Linked DNA regions of Homo sapiens: region 1 is linked to region 2. The links are contacts of gene promoters, found by promoter capture Hi-C in blood cells and fetal thymus (Javierre and others, 2016). All regions are on one chromosome and are shown on one strand. The core of a region is centred on a gene start or on the middle of the fragment in contact, and the rest is flanking DNA. Distances in the headings are between cores, read along the strand shown. Region 1 overlaps HSPH1 (heat shock protein family H (Hsp110) member 1). Region 2 holds the start of UBL3 (ubiquitin like 3).

The links. The method cuts DNA at HindIII sites, captures the fragments that hold promoters and counts their contacts. A CHiCAGO score of 5 or more calls a contact.
Region 1: a contact is called between a fragment that was not itself captured here and the fragment with the promoter of UBL3 in region 2, in 1 of 17 cell types (neutrophils). The highest score is 5.6, in neutrophils.

Annotation. Positions count from the first base shown.
Region 1 is chr13:31,154,741-31,158,651 of GRCh38, forward strand. It overlaps HSPH1 (heat shock protein family H (Hsp110) member 1), which reads right to left. Exons shown (of 18, transcript NM_006644.4): 3 at 774-914; 4 at 1-15. Among named protein-coding and RNA genes, the nearest start is that of HSPH1, 5.2 kb to the right of the region's middle. The HindIII fragment of the contact is 8,334 bases long and covers 1-3,911 here.
Region 2 is chr13:29,848,486-29,852,240 of GRCh38, forward strand. UBL3 (ubiquitin like 3) reads right to left here and starts at 2,132. Exons shown (of 5, transcript NM_007106.4): 1 at 1,027-2,132. The coding sequence starts at 1,053. RefSeq lists enhancers at 698-767, 1,238-1,307, 1,978-2,047 and silencers at 1,608-1,907, 2,178-2,287. The HindIII fragment of the contact is 5,102 bases long and covers 1-3,755 here.

The DNA of each region.
Region 1 (3,911 bases), core at 2-2,501, 1.3 Mb after region 2:
ACCCATGTACATTACCTATATTGAAGGGAAAAAATGTTTTAAACATTGTAGTACTTTAAGCTACATGCCAATATTTAACTTCCAAAAATTAGCACACATTCCCTTCCACAAAATCTTTATTTTATTGTTGTAGTTGTTTTGGGAAGAAGGAAGAAAAGGAGGAAAAAGGGAAGGGGAAGGAGGGAAGGGGGAGAGAAAGGAAAAGAGAAAAAAAGAAAAAGGAAGAAAGAACTTCTACCTAAAGATGAAGAGGAGCGGAAGAAAGCTAGGGCAGATATACCCCACCCAAAATCTAAGTCAAAACATTAAAGAAGGTAGTAAATTTCCACTCTAACTGAAGAGATGAATCACTAGGATAAATATTATTGTGTGTTGATCACAAGACAGGAATACCTCTGCAAGTTTAAAAAAAGATTCCTGGTGTTACTACACTATTGCTCTCCAAACAACTGCAACTGGGCTGTCTCAGAACAGACTTTTGTTTGATACATGAACACAATGTCGATTTTTTTTCCAACATCAAATAAACCTAAATTTTACAATTGCCAAAAAGTCAGAAGAAACACAAATTAAGTTATAGCATATATATTACCATTTGAATAATATTCAAAGACAATTTAGCGTCTATCTACTATACTTTAAAAGGAGCTGAATAAAAAAAGAACAAAAAGACCACCTGGTGTAATTAAGAAATTTAAGTAATAACTCAAATAAGTTCGTATTTTTAAGTATTAATAAGTTGGTATTTTTCTAAGGTTGCTCAATTATATTACCTTTATTCCAACTCCACCATTTTTCAATGGAACCAAATCGTAACTCAAGTTTTCCTTCTCCTTTTGAATGAAGGGGTCATTGAATGCTCGGCCATGAAATCTTTTGAAGTTAGACACCGTATTGTTTGCATGAGTGATTTGCTGCAAAAAGAAGTTTGAGATTTTAATTTTTTTCTTTAATTTCACCACCTACCAGTAATTTTAGTAATTTTATTTATTCACTTTACAACTCAAACCAATCCTATGAGTGCACATAAGTTGCCCTGAGGCCCACCAATTTCACTGAATTTCCCATCTATGAACAGATTTTATTTATACTTTTTCCTTCTCCTATAGAAAATGCCAGAAAGTAAGCAGCAAGAGGGAACAAGAGGCAAAATAGTGTGACGACAGACTTTAAAGATTTCAAAATCTGCAAGATAAACTCAAAGACAGTGAAAACTATCACTAAAGCTCTGAACAAACACACTAGAATTTTATCACTGTTTCATTCCTTTTTTTCCCTGCTAAACTTGTGAGGTTTTATACCCAATGAATGAATAGATCTAGTAGCACTATAGCCAAATTATAATTTTGTTTAAAAAAGTTAATTTTTGGCCAGGCGCGGTGGCTCACGCCTGTAATCCCAGCACTTTGGGAGGCCAAGGCGGGTGGATCACGAGGTCAGGAGATGGAGACCATCCTGGCTAACACGGTGAAACCCCGTCTCTACTAAAAATACAAAAAATTAGCCGGGCGTGGTTGCGGGCACCTGCAGTCCCAGCTACTCGGGAGGCTGAGGCAGGAGAATGGCATGAACCCAGGAGGCGGAGCTTGCAGTGAGCCAAGATCGTGTCACTGCACTCCAGCCTGGGCGACAGAGCGAGATTCCGTCTCAAAACAAAAAAAAAAGTTAATTTTTATAGCTGGGCATGGCAGCACATGCCTGTAATCCCAGCTAATTGAGAGGCTGAGGCAGGAGAATCGCTGGAACCTGGGAGGCAGAAGTTGCAGTGAGCCAAGATAGTGCCATTGCACTCTAGCTTGGGTAACAAGGGTGAAACTCATTCTCAAAAAAAAAAAAAATTAAAGTTAATTTTTATAGTCTAATAAATTGCTAAGCGGCCAGGATAAACACTCTGTGCCAGAAAATGCATGGATCGCTACCTTTCCTAGCAATAGCATGAAATGCTAGTTATCTACACCAAAAAGTAGAAGGCAGAAGAGTAATTCAACAAGTTTCTAAGTGACCTAATGTTTTCAACTGCATGTGCGTATTCTGAAGACTTGAGAGCCATGGTTTTTAAAAACAAGAAATTGAACTGCTATCTTACACAACTGGCGCACGTTTGTTAAACTGTTGTAAAAGATGGTGTTTTTTTAATCCACCGTTTTGGTCAAATATTTTAGGTAAACTCTAGATTGAAAAGCCCCACTTCAGAGCACATTTCACTCAAGGGTACCTCATTTGAAACAAGAAATAACTGTAAGATTGAAAACTAAGACTTCTGAAATTATTAGCTTAAAAATACCAAAACAGTATATTATTTACTTTTTCTCTTACCTAATTTTTTGAATAAAGGGAAGAATACAGTTAGCTTGGCAGTACTAGTTTTCAAACAATATAGAATTCAAGCAAGTTTAGGTCTTAAAATTCCTTATGTGTCTAAAACTGAGATGAAGTATGTCTAGTAGTATACTGGCCAAATATGAGTCTCAACAGATTCTTCTCAAGTAATCACAAGGATGCAACAGAATTTTAGGTCTAGGCTATCAATATCCTCAATGGGCACATTTAAAGGATTGTTACAACTAAAGTCCCACTATCCTTTTGAACATATTTTGAGTGTGCCTATTTCTCCTTTCCTTTTTCACCCCTTTTAGTTATCTCTCTCTTCCAATGTAACAAGGAAATAAAGTTAAATCCAACCTACATATTCAAAGGATTAGAAAACATGAAACCATTTTCTAATGAAAGCAGATTCATAAGTTTGATAAAGTGCCAATTTCTTATTAAACATAAGCATTTTAAGAGATGTTTTTGTTTTCAAATCTGACCTGATTTTTTAATAGGTCAGTACTAAATACATTCCATAATATATAATACAGTACTCAATCTAATCCAAAATTTTCTTTCTTAGCAATCTATTTTCTGTATTTAGAAAAATGTTTTTTATTTCAAAGAGCCTCTCAAAGAGCATTTCACGTATCTTTTACTGTTTTTCTCTCCACCTCCAAGGGGTCTGTCTAGATCAGTGCTGTTCAACAGAATTATATGTAAGTCATAAAGGAGAGCTACCTACATAAAATTTTGTAGCAGCCACGTTAAAAACTGGTAAGAGATTAGATTAATTTCAATTAACTTAGGCCAATATATTTTAGGAACTATCACTTCAATAAGTAGTCAACAGAAAAAAATTGATCAGATACCGTACTTTACTTTTCAATTCGATTAAAAAGTAAAAAATCTCATGTGTATTTTATACTTCACATTTTGATTCAGACGAGCCACATTTCAAATGCTCAATACAGTACATGGCTACCATATTTTTTAAACAGCACAGGTCTGGACAAAAATTTCTCCCAGTCCTACCTTAATTACTAAGTAACCTGAAAATGCTTTTAAACACATAATTTCTTAGAAGTTCCTTCTATAAAAGGAATCTCTTAAATGAGTATCACGAGAAACTTCACAAGAACTTAAAATGCCTTGTTTATAATTTCTAAAAATTAGATAAATGAAAGGCAGCAAAAAGTTACTAAAAGTTAAAGTCAGCAGGCCAGGCGTAGGCTCACACCTGTAATCCCAGCACTTTGGGAGGCTGAGACAGATGGATCACGAGCTCAGGAGTTCGAGATCAGTCTGACCAACATGGTGAAACCCCATCTCCACTAAAAATACAAAAACTAGCTGGGCGTGGTGACACGCGCCTGTAATCCCACCTACTCAGGAGGCTGAGGCAGGAGAATCGCTTTAACCCGGGAGGCGGAGGTTGCAGTGAGCCGAGATCGCGCCACTGCACTCTAGCCTGGGTAACAGAGCGAGACTCTATCTCAAAAAAAAAAAAAAAAAAAAAAAAAGTTAAGGATGGCAGATTAGAAAGTTAAAGTCGATCTTAATAAAACAAGGGAAAGGGAACAGAAAGGAAAGAGTGTCAT
Region 2 (3,755 bases), core at 882-3,381:
TTAAAATTAAAAAATAAAATAAAATTTAATCATCAGCAAAGTTCAATTTGTTTCCACTGAATACACAAACACTCAAATGTTAACATATGTGAGCACAACTACGTTAACTTCAATTCTTTCATAAACAGGATTATTCCTCTTCCTGGTAATTAAATGCATTATGTTTGTCCTTAGGACTGCAAAATGTAACTTCACACTCACACAAGCCCAGCCCCAGCACTGTAAGGTTACACGGTTACTGTTAGTCAACCGACTCACAACCTTACCCTTTATAAACAAAACAAAGAAAGGCGTCAATAAACAACAGTACTTTTTGTTTCAAGTTCTCAACACTCAGTGATCGAGGCTCAATACTATGTTTCCTTAGCTTTATGTCTAATATGGAATCTACTATTAATAAATATCTGGCATTAAAAAGCCCTGGAATATTCATTGTAAGTACCAATACAGGGTCAGCCTACGTTTCTGAAAATCCCAAAATATCTTTATATTTCTGTTGCCATCCGTATTCAGACATTTCAAAAACCTCACAGCAAATTCTAACATACTTTTTCTTGAAGAGATGTGCATCCCTGTTCTTGAAAAATATCAAGTTCGTCCCTACTGCAATGACGATCTCGTCTGTGTCATAAAGCAAGATTCCCGTTTCCCTACCTATTCTCTCGTAGGGACACCCGTCCTCAGCTCTGCCCACTGTCCCTGACGTTTTCAGAAACGTTAAAATACTAGTGTTCGGAGGCTTCTAGCGAAGAGGGAGATGTTTTGTCCCCTCAAGCTACCATGATACATTTCCCTACTTCTCCACTATCTTCAATGCTTTAGAAAACACGACCAAATGAGAGAACCCATATTAAAAGCAGTACTTCCTAAAAGGGGGAAACCAGAAGCTCCAACTTCTCCAAATCGCTCAGCACAGTGGCTTTTCGACAGTCCCCAGCAAATCTTCGCCCCACGCCTGCCGTCTTTCCGATTAAATAAGATTGGAAACCACAATTAAATCAGTGTCATAACTTATCCGTCACTTACCATATCCGCCGGGACATTACTGGACATCTTGCCGTTTGATATACACCCAGATGTTTACGAAAAAAACAAACAAAGAAAAAAGAGCAGAAGTCTTCACGTTACAGAAATAAACCACGATTTTGACTGGTTCGTGATGTGCTTTCTCCCCCAAAAATAAAGTTATTTTGGAGCCAAAGTGCCGGTCAGGCCGAGGTTCTGGTTCGAAGAGGAACAATCCCCAGGAGCTGTGTGGCCGGAGCAGGAGGAAACTCCCGGGACAGCAGAGGCAGCCCCCGTCGTCGTCGTCGTCGTCAACAGCAGCAGCAGCCCCAGGACCGGCCGCGCCAGGTGGACCGAGCCGAGTGACACACGGACATGGAGAGGGGTGGGAGGGGGTTAAATGCGCCTTCCTCCTTTCCCAGCCCCGGCAATGATTCACACTTGCTCCCGAGTCAAGTCCTCATTAAGCAGGAGAAAAATGCCCCAGCGTGGATGTACACAGATAACTATGTAGCTACACATCGACGCGTGAGCCTTGAGTGGCGGCCGAGCGGTGGCCGGACGCTGGCCGCGGACCCTGCAGAGCCGCTGTCGGAGCGCCCGCGCGGACAGCGCGGGGAAACGGCTCAACTCGCGCCGCGGGGGCGAAGAGCCGGGCCGCGGAAACCCGCGCTCAAGGGCATTTAACTAGTTGGAAGCCAAAGCGAAAGACCGGAGCGGGGGACCGACAGCGCGGGGGTGCTCGGGGCCGGCCGGGACACTCCACAGCCCCTCTGGGCTCAGGCCGCGGGCGCCTCCGGACAGCAGCTGGGGTCGGGGCGCATCGTCTCCGGCTCCTCGCCACTCCTCTTCTGCCTCCGCCTTCCCCGCCGCCGCCTCCCCGGTCTCCGCCTTCCCTTCCCCTCCCCTCCCCGGCCTCGCGAGCTCCGGGCGACGCCGACTTCGGCTGGTCCCCGGAAGAGGCCGGGTCCTCCTTCTCCTCAGCCCGGGAATGGTTTCCTCTCAGAGCTTTGTTTCTCCTCCTCCTCCTTCACTTTTCAGTCCCACACGCCGCGGCCGCCTCCTGTCATCGCCTCTCAAACCAACATGGCGGCAGCGGCGGCGGCGGCGGCTGCCTGAGTGCGACTAAGGGAAACGGGGAGAGCACGGGCCCCCCCTCGCAGCAGCCGCCGCCCCCGTCCTCGTCCTCCCTCCGCGGACACCAAGTGCGTCACCACGGAGACCATTCCCTCGAGCATCACGGGAAGTGTAGTCTACGAGGGTGGGGGGGGGAGGGAGCCGCCGAACGCCTCCTCACCCAGCTCCGAAGCCACGCCCCCCATAGCAACAGTTGCGAGGAAAGGAAAGCTCCCTTTCCCTTGCTTTGGACAAGCTGCTGCCCAGGAGTTAAGTGATACCTGCTACCAGGAGTGCTGTGATCATGAGAATTGTTGGGAGAAAATAATTCTGCATAGAGAAATTCCCTTATGCACGATATGCACACAGAGCTAAAATATGCTGTACCTCCAAGCAGAATCATTCATTTTAATTACAGCACATTCTCCACATCCTGCAATCTCAATGCATTTTGTAGAGTGATTTCATCTAGGTCTCCTCAACATTACATTTTGAAGAACAAAAGCAATCATTGATTTCCAATAAGGTCACATAAGTTCAACAGGAACAAGGATCTCATTAAGCAGTGAGAATATTTGAACATGTGTTTCCTTGAAGACCCAGGGCAATAAAGCTACAATCTACTTAACTGAAATTACCAAAACTGTATTACATACAACAGTGTTATTATATCAAATCTGTATCAGGAAATAGCTACTACAAACTTCATGGGGATTCACCAGTTTACCCATCTGGACCCTAAATTCTATTCTATGTAACTCATAATGTAATTGAAAACCTATATGCCTTGCAGTGATTAGCAAATAGGAGAAAATAATGCCATTGTTGAGACACCATTCAGATGGACATTTGTGATTTCTGCATTTTGTTCCTAAATCTGAGGTCAACATCTGAATCCCTATTCATATCTCTTAGTCCTTTGACAGAGTACTTTAGAAAGGGCAGTCTCAATATGATGCCTATATATAAATGCCAATGAATTTAGAGTCTGAAAGCCACCTCTCCAACCTACAGCTGTGTGACCTCATCTGTAAAATGGTCTTGCCTACCTTCCGGGGTAAAGTAGGGGTAGTTATGAGGATGAGTTCATGCATGGGAAATAAATCACTTTGTAAATAATAATGCATCATTTGATATGAAATGTCACTACTCATTCTCTCATTCAGCAAACAAATGTGCCAGGCACTCTGCTAGGCACTAGGAGTTTAAAAATGAGTCACTGTAGCGAACAGCAGCATCATGTGGCAGAAATGCCAAGGTCTTGGGTTGGCAATGGGGGTTATTACATCCTTGTCTATAGGGCTGTTGAAAAGAGGCAGAATCCAGTCACTGTCCTCAGGGAGCTCATTGTCTAGAAGCCTACGTGATTCCCCACAGCAATCTCTCCAGTTGGGTTTCTCATCAGTTGGAAACCCACAGGACATTTAGAGTACCTGCCTCTTGAGTAGCCTGGGTGGAGAAATTCCAAACACTCCTAAGGGCCTATATCACCCTGAGGAAGATAGATCAAATTCTCCGAAAAACCAAAGGCCAGAAGAGAAGAGAGGCCCAAATCTCACTGTGATTAGGCTTCAGGACTTTGTCTAGATATTTCCAAGTCCATAGTTACGTGATTTTCCATGGCCTTTGTTACT